Linked DNA regions of Homo sapiens: region 1 is linked to region 2. Evidence: promoter capture Hi-C in 16 types of primary human blood cells and fetal thymus (Javierre and others, 2016). All regions are on one chromosome and are shown on one strand. Each heading gives the region's core, a stretch centred on a gene start or on the middle of the fragment in contact. The rest is flanking DNA. Distances are from core to core; before and after follow the strand shown. Region 1 overlaps HDAC2 (histone deacetylase 2). Region 2 holds the start of RFPL4B (ret finger protein like 4B).

The links. The method cuts DNA at HindIII sites, captures the fragments that hold promoters and counts their contacts. A CHiCAGO score of 5 or more calls a contact.
Region 1: a fragment that was not itself captured here is called in contact with the fragment with the promoter of RFPL4B in region 2 in 1 of 17 cell types (endothelial precursors); the score reaches 7.1 in endothelial precursors.

The regions. Positions count from the first base shown.
Region 1 is chr6:113,935,315-113,941,968 of GRCh38, forward strand. HDAC2 (histone deacetylase 2) reads right to left here. Exons shown (of 14, transcript NM_001527.4): 13 at 6,394-6,451; 14 at 1-5,774. The coding sequence ends at 5,744. Among named protein-coding and RNA genes, the nearest start is that of HDAC2-AS2, 31 kb to the right of the region's middle. The HindIII fragment of the contact is 4,520 bases long and covers 2,066-6,585 here.
Region 2 is chr6:112,344,384-112,350,973 of GRCh38, forward strand. It overlaps RFPL4B (ret finger protein like 4B), which reads left to right and starts at 2,947. Exons shown (of 3, transcript NM_001013734.3): 1 at 2,947-3,024; 2 at 4,810-4,938; 3 at 5,221-6,590. The coding sequence starts at 5,326. The coding sequence ends at 6,117. The HindIII fragment of the contact is 3,879 bases long and covers 562-4,440 here.

The DNA of each region.
Region 1 (6,654 bases), core at 3,076-5,575, 1.6 Mb after region 2:
ATGACTTTTTGTTGGTATTTGTTAAGTACAGCCAGTTTTGATAATGTGCTCTCTTTTACTTTAGGAATTGCCTGTCCGTACTTTCCTTTAAAAGTTTTACCTGTACATCATCCTAGTAAGTATATGGCAAGGGCAGGGAAGTGACCCTGGATGTTTATTTCTGAAGAAACAAAAAAGATGACTAGTAGAGGATACAAGAGAAGCTGGAAGCTACTGATTTATCAATAGAATAAAAAATCCACAACACAAAAACAGATTAGAGTCTTCTTTGTTCAACTCACTCCTAAATACAAACCACTGGCTGCAAAATGGGTCTGGCCAAAAAAAATCTCCTATTCAGAATCCTGCTACTCATTTTACCTTAGAAATAATTATACATTTCTTTAACATTTAGAGTAAAAACAATCTTAATAAAAAGAGCAAATAACAGAATCTAATCAAGGTGTCTTCTGTCCTTAACTGTTTGTTCTACTAAAAAAGAATTTTTCATTAATAATCCTAATCATAACTCTGCAGTGTTCAAAGACCAAAGGGGTTAGGTACTTAGTTCAGTAAACAAAAGTCGTGGAACAAGCACCCAATGCCCCTGAATATTAACTTCACTATAACTATAATTCCTAGAAATAAATTTCAATTCTTTCCCATTCTGTATACTAACTGATTCTTACCACCAGTCAAAACAGAAAATTATTCTGGCTCTAATATTCAGTTCCATTTTGTCTGACTAGCAAAGTCACAATTAGTCAATGACTACCAGATACACTCTACTGTGTTTTGCAGATGTAAAACTTAGAAATTAGTGTTATAATTCTTATAGGAAAACCTAAATCAGTAAACTTAATTGTAGTTTAATTCAAAGTTTTTAATCCAATATTGCATTCAAAAAGAATCTGTTAATACATGTTGCTCTGCTTGTTACATGGCCACCAAGTGACTATAAGAGAAAACACACAGAAAAAAAAATTTTAAATGCAGTATCTGCCATCTTGTGGTACAGTGAGGAAATGCAGCAATTGAGAAGCTTCTAAATGCTGTAATCCTAAACATTTCTCCGCATTGCTCATGTAAATAGCCAATAATAACAATATGATAGTTCTATTTTTTCTGTAATCTACTTAATGCCATTTTTCTTGAGATTATCCTTGAGTAAATTACAGAGGCATCAAGATCCCCCCAAAGTTGTCAAATATTATTCGTATCCTTGCTAAAATCAGGTCTCCAAAAGATTGCTTCTCTATCCACTATGACCTAGTAGTCTTCACACTAGTAGGCATCAAACTGCAATAAAAGGCTCAGATACAACCCATCTGGCATCTAAAGGAACACTCAAAAATTTAACACTTCCCCTGGCACCACTCTCACCCATCTATCTACCTTTACCTCATAACAATAGCAAGCCAGGCGCGGTGGCTCATGCTTGTAATCCCAGCACTTTGGGAGGCCCAGGCGGGTGGATCATTTGAGGTAAGGAGTTCAAGACCAGCCTGGACAATATGGTGAGAACCCGTCTCTACTAAATATACAAAAATTAGCCAGGTGTGGTGGTGCACACCTGTACTCCCAGCTGCTTGGGAGGCTGAAGCATGAGAATCACCTGAACCTAGGAAGCAGAGGATGCAGTGAGCCAAGATCATGCCACTGCACTCCAACCTGGGCAACAGAGTGAGACTCTTTCAAAAAAAAAAGAAAAAAAAATAGCAGCTAACCCTTACTGAGCATTAACTATGTTATTAACTCAATCCTCACAACAAACCTATTAAGTAGGGACTATTATTTTCCTCATTTTAAATGATGAAGCAACTGAGGCACAGAGGTTAGTAATTTTCCTAAGATTATGGTGGAGATCCTAAGCTATTGAAATGATTACTACTTGTTTTCAAAAGCCCTTATCATTTATATCACAATATGAATAACAAATATTATGAATCGCAGTTATCAAAAAAACTTCAGCAGTATTACTACATCAAAACCATAAAAAACAGAAGATGTAGGTGACTAACTTCAATGTAAGAACTTCAAATAATTGCCCATTGACAGAATGCTAGCAGCTCTGGTAGAAGGGCAAAGCTTAGATATGATGTAACTAGCTTAGAGTACCAATGCTGACTTAGAACAGCATTCACCCATGCCATAGAGAACTGAGACAATGTGGCACCTTCATTAAATGAATTAAAGAGCTTTACTTGAGTTAATATCTTAGTTTACCAAACCTGACCTGAGTTTCCTCAAACACTTGACAATAGTTGCTTTCTAAGTCTGTAACATGATAGGTTTAGGCCGGGTACGGTGGCTCATGCCTGAGTCAGGAGAATCGCTTGAGCCTAGGAGTTTGTGACCAGCCTGGGCAACACAGGGAGACACCATCTCTCCAAAATAAAAATGTAAAAATCAGCTAGGTGTGATGGTGCACACTTGTAGTCCCAGCTACTTGGGAGGCTGAGGTGGGAGAATACCCTAAGCCTAGAAGTTCTAAGATGTAGTGAGATATGATCAGGCTACCACACTCCATCCTGGGTGACCGAGATCCTTTCTCTAAAAAAAAGAGATAAACAGCCAGGTGCGGCAGCTCACACCTGTAATCCCAGCACTTTGGAAGGCCAAGGTGGGTGGATCATGAGGTCAGGAGTTCGAGGCCAGCCTGGCCAACATAGTGAAACCCCGTCTCTACTAAAAATGCGAACAATTAGCTGGGCGTGGTGACAGGCGCCTGTAATCCCAGCTACTCAGGAGGCTGAGGCAGGAGAATGGCTTCAACCTGGGAGGCGGAGGTTGCAGTGAGCCGAGATTGCGCCATTGCACACCAGCCTGGGCAACAGCGAGACTCCGTCTCAAAAAAAGAAAAAATAAATAAACATAATAGGTTTAAAAAACTAAGTTAAAAAATAAGTCTCTCTATAGCTTTTTATTTACTGAGGTTAAAGATCTTTTCATATTTACAAACTATTTATATGTATTTGTTTCCCAGTTCACATCCTTATACATTTTGTTCCTCTACTATCTTTAGATATGAGCCTTTTGACCTGGATGAGTTACAAATCTGCCTCCCACTCTGTCTTTTGTCATTTTTCTTGACTTGTCTTCTAAGTTTTTGTTGGTCCACTGAACTAATTTTTTTTTTGTTATCAAATATATCTTTTATAGTTGAGTTTGGTGTCACACTTAGGCCTTCTTCAATCCATTTGCTTTAAGAGTTTAGGTTTTTGGTAGTTTTATCTTTTCCTATTTAAATCTTCTAGTGGAGGGCAGAAAACTGGGTTTTCCATTTGGTTACCAGTTGTTGTCCCAATTCCACTTACAAAATAATGTCTTTCCTTGCCAATTTCAAATATCATTTTTATCCTATATGAATTTTTTAAAGTATTAGGGTATTCTGACATCTTACTATGTTACATTGACCTTACTAGACACAAGAACCATAGCTTCTTTACATATTATTTCTAAAAATTTTGTTATTACAAATGGGGGTCTTTGTTCTTCCAACAGACTTGGTCACTAAGTGTTACTGATTTCTGTTTATTAATGCTGTACCAAATCACCTTGCTGAAATTGCTTTAGATAGTTCTCTTGAGGTTTTAGTTGTATATAACCAACTACTTAGAAAAACAAAACCTCTTAAATACACCCAAGGAGATCCAGTATAGTATTGAAGTGTACAATTTCAGTATGTTCACACAATGGAACATAATACATAGCAGTCAAAATGAACTATACTTAACATGTGTCAACAGGGGTAGATCAGAATATTAAATGAAAAAAAGCAAAGGGCCTTTGTCTCCTGGCACCCGGATACTGAGCTCAGTTTCCGTCTTCACTGTTCCATCTCCTCCATCCACTACTCCAGGATCTCATAGGTGACTCTACCACAGCCCCTGTTGTCCTGTGAGCTGCAGGCACTGGGAAATCCACAGGGAGGATGCCAGAACATCTGGAGCCTGCGAAATGGTATTTTCTTATTTAAAACAGGATCATCATGGTAGACGGGAGGCATGGTGGGAGGGGGGCGAGGGATAAAAGATTACAAATAGGGTGCAGTGTACACTGCTTGGGTGATGGGTCCACCAAAATCCCACAAATCACCACTAAAGAACTTAATCATGTAACCAAACACCACCTGTTCCCCAATAAGCTATGGAAAAATAAAAATAAAAAAAGCAAAGTTACAGAATTGTCCAAATACATACCATCTATGTTTCACAAACACTAAATACATTTCATTATCCCCCTAACGAAGGGACTAAGTTTCTTAGTTCCTAATGTCATAAAGGTTTACAGATTGATAACAAATATGTAGCAAAAGTACAAAAACATGGGTAAAATATTCACAAAAACATGGATAAAATAATCACAATGGTGATTACTTCTTAAGGCTGGGAGGGAGGGAGGATTACAAACGACAAAGTACACAAAGAGAGCTTCAATTTCGGTGTATTTTAAGAAAAAAACACCGAAGCAAATATAGCAAAAGTAAAATATTTGTTAAGTCGGGGTGGGTGCACAGCTGTTCATTACAAAAGTCTAGGTGCTATTGTGAATGTCTGAAACATTTAAGAGGCTTGTAGAGAAATATTTTTTCTTTTAATATTTTACTGCACTGAAGAGAAATACTTTTGACTGAATTATCTTCTGGCATTCTGTAATTTTTAATCTCAAAAGAATCAATGTGGGCCTGACAAAAAGGGAGATTTCACTGATTTTGGCAAGTTCCTAAAATGTTTTGTCTTCTTTGCACATCTTAGTAGCAGGAGTTACCCCCATTTGTCTGCTTCCTGCTACTAGAATGTAAGCTCTGAGTGTAAGCTCTGAGTGAAAGCATTTTTCCATTATATTCAGTTACACTCCTACAGTCTTAAAATGGGCAGACACACAATAAGTAGTTGCTGAATGATAAATCAGTTGTGTTTATTTCCTTGAGTTAGAAACCTGGATGTCACGTAAATAATAATGGAACCTGGATGCCATGTAAATGCAGTAAAAGAAACAGGTTTTGTCTGCAGGTTCCATTTTAAACCAGCAATATACTATAGGCAAGTCTGGTCAATACAAGTTCTGGTCAGTTTCTTCTTTCAATTCAGAATTTCCATTTCAATTTTGAGAATCTTTGGGTCAACTCAAAGAACTCCTACATCTCAATTGCAGAGTCTGTATTATTTCATAAATTGTAATGGGATGTTAATCTTCACTGATACTAACTGGCTAAGCTATAGAGGGCAAGGTGGTAGAATTTCTATTGCAAAGATAAGTAATAATTACTATAAATACTCTTCCCAAAGAAACAGCAAATAGTTATCTTTCAAGCTGTAATCATTATCTTTCACCTAGAGTGTATTGTAAGTCTACAGAAATGATGTCATTAGCCACTGAAACAAGACTTCATATTGTAGTAATAAACAGACAAAAGATAATCCAAGTACAATTTTTTAATAAAGATAATTACAAAAGATGGAAAAATCAGCTCAGAAAGGCCAATTACTTCTTTAATAGATCAGTTTTTTTGACATAATAACTCACATCAATTTTAAATACTATCACATAAAGCATGGTGGAGAAAAGAAATTTTGCTTCATAATTAGAAAAACTCACAATAAAACTTGCCAAGAAAAACAAAAACGAAAAAGCCATTTGAAAATAAATACAGTCCATGCCAAAGTAGTATAAAATGAAGCCAGAAGTCTTCAAAAAGAAAACATTTTCCTTTCAATATTTTCTTTTTAATGATTTTCTGAAATTGGTGAGACTGTCAAATTCAGGGGTTGCTGAGCTGTTCTGATTTGGTTCTGTTAAAAGAGGCAATGTGAAATATTAAAAATGGCACAATCTTGGTTTAAATGCACTGACCTATTATATTGATCAGGTCCTGTAGGCTCATGCTAAGAAACACATTAATTGATAATGTCTTAAGTGTTTCTGGAGTAATTAATGCCTTAATTTTTCTAGTGATTTAATAAACTATTCCAAGTTATCCTGTAAAGGCTGGCACAAAATTATGTGTGCCCAAACATTTACATGCTTTCTGACACTAAAATCCTCAACTGTTTTTACTTAAAATTGTTTCTTAAATTTACCTATCTCACAACACTAAAAAAATCATGTACACAGAAATAAGAACACCATGAAAACCATTAAGTGCATATATAAAAGATAACAGCAAAAAAGGGTCTCAGATAAACTACGTACAAGAATACAAACTGACTGATATAGTTATACTGATAAACCAATAGGTAAGATGGCATATGTTGTCTTATGTACCAATACAAACTAAAATTCAGAGCACCTCATAATGATGTTCTAAGGTTCAGTCTAGTATTTCTGAAGTGTGTACACAAACACACACCAATAAACATGTTTAGTATTTTTATAGTATGTAAAAAGTACTTGATAAGGAACATCATTTACCCTTTGGTATCTGTTTTTTCACCACTGTTGTCCTTGGATTTATCTTCTTCCTTAACGTCTAAAAATAAAGATTGGGAAAAGATTAAAACCTATTTTGAAATATAAAATGTATATATATTATTTCAAAATATACTTTATTTTTAAAATATAAAAAGTTATGCAATCTTATTATTAATGAATTCGGTCTAAATAAGCTTTGTGTTGGGTGTTTCCTAAACGATGGCAGTACAAGCTATGAATAGTCACTGGATTGGGGTGCAG
Region 2 (6,590 bases), core at 1,697-4,196:
AAGGAGAGAAAATGTTCCATATTTAGCCATATCATATGTATTAGTTTTGAGATGGCAGAAGCCAGACGAAAAGATGGCTGGATGCATCATTAGAGTTTTTGGTTACCAAGGAACTAAGATTTGCTGCTGCCACTTAGAGTTATAGAATTTGTAGTAGGGCAATGATCTTTGAATAGTTTAGAGAGGTCCTGGAGGTCCCTGAGACACTTTTAGTGAGTCTGCAGAATCTTCCCTTTTCCAACTAAACATCTGTGGGAAGCCACATTTTTTTTCACATATTTAAATCAAAGCAACATATCACAACAGGTTCAGCAAAAGTAGATGTAAGAATCCAGATGTCTTTTATTAAGCAAAAATTACAGAGGTTTGCAAACATTCAAGACAATGGAACTCTTCTAAGTAATTGTTTTTGTTTTAGAAAATAGTTATTTGTTTAAATAAAACTATATTATTTATGTTAACATGTAATAGTTTTATTTTAATTAATTAGAGCTTTAAAAAATTCTCAGTTTGAATTTCTAATATTGTAAATATGAAGAAATATAATTCATATGAACAAAAAGCTTTTTGGATTTCTCATTTATGTATAAGAGTGCAAATGATATCACCTTACACCTGTAAGAATAATTTTTTCTTTCTTTCTTTTTTTTTTGAGACGGAGTCTTGCTCTGTCTCCCAGGCTGGAGTGCAGTGGTGCGACCTCGGCTCACTGCAATCTCCGCCTCCTAGGTTCAAGCAATTCTATGCCTCAGCCTCACAAGTAGCTGGAATTACAGGTGCCCGCCACCACGCCTTGCTAATTTTTTTATTTTTAGTAGAAACGGGGTTTTAGCATCTTGGCCAGGCTTGTCTTGAACTCCTAACCTCGCGATTCACCCGCCTTGGCCTCCCAAAGTGCTGGGATTACAGGCATGAGAAAAAAGTAAATAAATAAAAAAGAGAAGAGATAACAAATGCTGGCAAAGATATGAAGAAAAGAGAAACCTCGTACACCATTGGTGGGAATGTAAATTAGCACAGCTATTATGAAAACTAGTATGGGGGTTCTTCAAAGAACTAAAAATAGAGCTACTATGTGATCTAGCAATTCTACTTCTGAATATATATCCAAAGAAAATAAAATCAGTACATTGAAGAGATATCTGCTCTCCTATGTTCATAACAGCATTATTCACAGTAGCCAAGATAGAGAATCAACTTATATTCATCAACTGATGAATGCATAAAGAATCAGGATATTCCTCAATAGATGAATACATAAAGAAAACATGGTACATGTACATGATGGAATACTATCGAGTCTTAAGAAATTCTATCATTTTCAACAACATGGAACCTGGAGGACATTATGTTGAGTGAAATAAGCTGGTACCGAAAGGCAAATGCTGCATGATTTCACCTATACGTGGAATGGAAAAAAGTAAAAAAAAATGAACTCATGGAAGCATGGAGTAGAATGGTGGCTACCAGGCACTGGGATGAAAAGAAGACTGAAATGGGGAGATATTGGTTAAAAGGTACAAAATTTTCAGGTAGATAGAAGGAATACTCTTTGGAGATCCATTGTACATCATGGTGGATATAACTAATGATAATGTATAGCACACCTAAAAATTGCTAAGATAGTAGATTTTGAACATTTTCATGACAAAATGATAAGTATGTGAAGTGACAGATATGTTAATTGGCTTGATTTAATCAGTTCACAGTGTATACATACATCAGACAATTAAAAAACAAATAGTAAATCTGGGTAAAGAATATATCTCTTTTTACTATTCCTACAAATTTTCTGTGTCTAAAATTATTTCAAAATAAAATGAAAGAAAAAATAAAATGACATTTTTGAATAATTAAAAAAGAGAGTGTAAGGATTCTTGAGATTAAAATCTCAAGTTTAAAGGGTCTTGAGATTACAATTTAAAAAGTTTGAGCTCCTAAACTTATGTGATCTGCCCACCTTGGCCTCCTGTAATCCCAGCTACTAGGGAGGCTGAGGCACAAGAATCACTTGAACCTGGGAGGTGGAGGTTGCAATGAGCCGAGACTGAGCCACTGCACTCCAACCTGGGAGACAGAGCAAGATTGTGTCAAAAATCAAAACAAAAAAAAACCCCAGCAACGCTTGAGACCTGCTCCTGCAAGTATTTAACTCACAGAAAAGGAGATAGCACCAGGTAAAAATGAAGTAAAAGCTGTGTAAGCTGTGTGTTGGGCCTTGCAGAACAGGAAGCCTGAGAAAGGAGAGGTTATTTAGAATGCAGCCTCTCTTGGGGAAAACGTATATTCCAGCGATCCTCTCTACAATGGGACTTCATTCACCCTCCAAATCCTTTTTTGGAAGTTTGTGTCTTAGCTTTCCTCTGTTGTGACTTTTACTGCTCCTTCTGCTCTCGATACAGACACCATAAAATTTACCGTTCATCCAAGAACACTTTTGAGAGTAAAAAATGGAATTATTAATAATTACAGGACAATAGCCTTGCCTAGCTGCCATCTTTCTTATCCTGTCCAGTAAGTACCCCTAAGAGTAGAATTGTTGAGTCAAAGGACATGAAAACTGTTGTAGATCCTGTCCGCTCATGATTCTATCAGGAATAGGAACACCAATGATTACATTAGCCACGAGGTGATTAGGTTTCAGCAGTGCATTTCTGTATTTGATCTCCAACACATTTTGCTTTTTAAAGTTGAGTTCTGAAATTAGAGACAAGAGCAGATGGCAGTAGATTCACTCTAATTCAGGGAGTTATTAAGAAATTTTGAATTTTTTTACTATATAATTTGAAGCCTGCTTTAATGTCATCATCATAAACGGAAGGGTGGGTTGATGAGTTTACTCAGATTAGAGTGGTACAACCTTTGGGGCGGAGCCTCTGACTCTGATTGGTTGGACAATGTTTTCCAGGCAGTATAAAAACGCTGGTGTCTCTCCGCGGAAACTCCGAGAGGAGCAGAGGTCTGTAGAGGTAGAGACGTAGGCTTCGGATCTTTTAGAATTCTGCTGGAAGTCTCCAAGTCAAGGTAAGTTATACCTTCTGTTTAAGCTATTTCCAATGTCCTATTCTGTCTTTGGCTACAAACTGGTGTTTTCGAATGCCTTTAACTATTTATTTTAGAGGAGAAAGAACTAGTTTTTTCCTGTGCCAGGGAGCTTTCTTCACCTTTAACTATAACTTTGCCATTTAAATTTTTACATATGAACCTCAGGTCACTCTTTGCATGAACTTGTATTTTTATGTGTTTTCAACTACAATGGATTTAAATGGTTTTAAAATGGTTTCTTTTTATTTTCCAACATTTCTTAAAAGATTTCTGGGTTTTCGGCCGGGCGCCATGGTTCGCGCCTGCGCTTTGGGAGGCTGAGGTGGGTGGATCACGAGGTCAAGAGACCAGCCTGTCCAACATGGTGAAACCCCGTCTCTACTAAAAATACAAAACTTAGCCGGACGTGGTGGCACATGCTTGTAATCCCAGCTACTCAGGAGACCGAGGCAGGAGAATTGCTTGAACCCGGGAGGCAGAGGTTGCAGTGAGCCGAGATGGAGCCACTGCACCCCCAGCCTGGGCGACAGAGCAAGACTCCGTCTCAAAAAAAAAAAAAGACTTCACTTCGGGTTTTCACTTAAATATACTTGGCCACTTTTAGTAGTTGTGTCATAATTAGCTGAATCATTTTATTATTGTTAGATAATTCGATTGTTCCTGATCATTTGGGATGGTAGTTAACACTGAAATGAACAACTTGTGAATAAGTGTAGCATTTTTTTTCTTTTGTAAAATTGTTTTCTTAGATACATTCCAAGGTGGGTTAGGCAATTAGATTTCCAGCACCATGTTAAATTTCCCATTAAATTGAAAAAGATAACAGAATTTAAGAAAGAGGTAATCTCTGGTTGTCCGCCAGCCAGGCACCATGAGATTGGAATGCTGATCAGGACTTGGAAGACAAAGTTTTATGTGGGCAGATACCCTGTTTATTACACACGTTTGTGTTTCCAGAGTCCAGTTGAGGCCAAGAGCACAGAAGGGGCTCAATAAGTATTTGTTGGAAAGAGATTAGAGAATGTGTTCTGGGATGTAGGACAGTTCTAGTAACTCAGTCTTAGGCTGGCCTCATCGGTGTTCATCACTTCCTCTCTCTGGTAATGTTGATGCTGCTCCTCTTTCTGTCCCTCATTCTGTTACTACTGTCACCACTGAATGTGTGATTTGTGGGTTCTTGGTAAGGAGTTCTGCTAGTTACTGCTCAGTGCAGGCTCTTATTGGAGAACAGTCCTCTGTTCACATAATCTCAAAGGTGCTGTCCAGCTTTGCGAGGCTGTCTTTGGGTCATGGGTCTAGCCTGGTCCAATATGCTGTGCCCAGCATGTCAGAGACAGCTCACTCAAAGAATAATAGCCATGGTGGGAAGTCCTCTGGGAGCACCAGAGGCTCTCAAGCTTTGGGAGCAGTTGGGGTAACAGGAGGGCATCTTCCTTGTCTGGAACATCTTTTTGGTTTGTATTCAGGCATGATTATTTTGGAGAAGTTGATGACTATTATATTTTTATTCACATTAATTCAAGCCTTAATTAGTTTTCTTAGAGTGCTTTAAAGCATTTCATCTAATAACACTTTGTCCTTAAACTTGATTCTTTTATGGGCTTCTCATTTTGCAGTGGATTTTGCTGGCTTTACTCACATGTGGTAATTTTCCTGGAAATTCTGAGGATTCCTTAGAGTCACTTTTCTGTGATGATTAATGTAGAATTGGCTTTATTTTCATTATTGAATTTAGACATGAACATTCTTTTTCCTGAACTGCAGAGGATCTACAAAGAAATACTGAGTGGAGACTATACTGAGATTCTGTTAAAGACCCACTTGAATTCAGCCCCCATTAGGAGAAACTTTGGCCGGAGCAGCCAACACATCACCTGGAAGTCTTCAGACTAGGTAAGCTGCACTGTCTGAAAAGAAAGTTTCCACTGTCCTATTTCTGTCTTGTGATTATCTAGAGTTTGAAGAGTTTCGAAATCATTTTTATCACCATGACTACATTACTGTGATTCTCTAGCAATTTAGTGTCACTTTCATACACAAACTGCAGAAATATTATTTTTTTGTTATTCTTAATTTCTTAGTTAATAAATTTATTATTATTTATTAAATAATATAATTCATTTATGTATGCCAATAACTTATTTATTAATTTATATTATTTAATCTTGGATTTAGACTATTGAAGAGTGGATTGTGTACTGAGGGCTCCCAAGTGCTTCCAGAAGCCAATAAAGGATCACTTCAGTTTACTTCACGGCTAAGGAGTAACCCTTAAGAACCATGGCCAAACGCCTGCAAGCAGAGTTGTCCTGTCCAGTTTGCCTGGATTTTTTCTCCTGTTCCATTTCTCTCTCTTGTACACACGTGTTCTGCTTTGATTGCATCCAGAGGTATATACTAGAAAACCATGATTTTAGAGCGATGTGCCCCTTGTGTCGAGACGTGGTGAAGGTACCTGCTTTGGAAGAATGGCAAGTGAGCGTCCTAACACTTATGACCAAGCAGCACAATAGCCGACTTGAGCAAAGTCTGCACGTGAGGGAGGAGCTCCGGCATTTTCGGGAGGATGTGACCCTGGATGCAGCCACTGCCAGCTCCCTCCTTGTCTTCTCCAATGATCTAAGAAGCGCTCAGTGTAAGAAGATCCACCACGATCTGACAAAAGATCCCAGGCTGGCCTGTGTCCTGGGTACTCCCTGCTTCTCCTCCGGCCAACATTACTGGGAGGTTGAAGTGGGAGAGGTGAAGTCATGGTCCCTGGGCGTCTGCAAGGAGCCGGCTGACAGAAAGAGCAATGATTTATTCCCTGAGCATGGCTTCTGGATCAGCATGAAGGCAGGAGCAATCCATGCTAACACCCACCTGGAGAGAATTCCTGCAAGCCCTCGCCTTCGCCGTGTGGGAATTTTCCTGGATGCTGACTTAGAAGAAATCCAGTTTTTTGATGTTGACAATAATGTCCTCATCTATACACATGATGGTTTCTTCTCTTTGGAGCTTTTGTGTCCATTCTTCTGTCTTGAGCTCTTGGGAGAAGGGGAGAGTGGCAACGTCCTGACCATCTGCCCATGAGAAAGTCAGCCCTTCCTAGAAGCTTTCTGAGAGGTGAAAGAGAATTTTGGCCTGAGAAAGGTCAGCATGATTGAGGAAGAGATAATGTGCTATAGTGCAAAGACTTGGTAAATTTTTAAAGTAGATTTTGTAGACTTTGTAGCAAAACAATTTTCGGATTTTTGGGGTAAATTTTGTGGAATTTGTAGCTAGGTAACTGGGGTCTTTAGGGATGTTATTAAGTACTGTAAGCTTCAGTTTTCTAGTCTGTAGATGCGGATAATTGTATCTCAGTCAAACAGCTGTGGTAATTAGAGACAATACTATGCCTTTGTCTTATAGTAAATAACAAATAGAGAAATCTTAGATTGTAAGTAAGCTAGATATTAGGTTTTGTGGATAGACAATATCTTTTTCATTATTTCAAGCTGTTTTGTGTAATTCCTGATAATGTCTGAGGAGGAAGAAAAATTCAACAGCCAGTGTGAGTTATT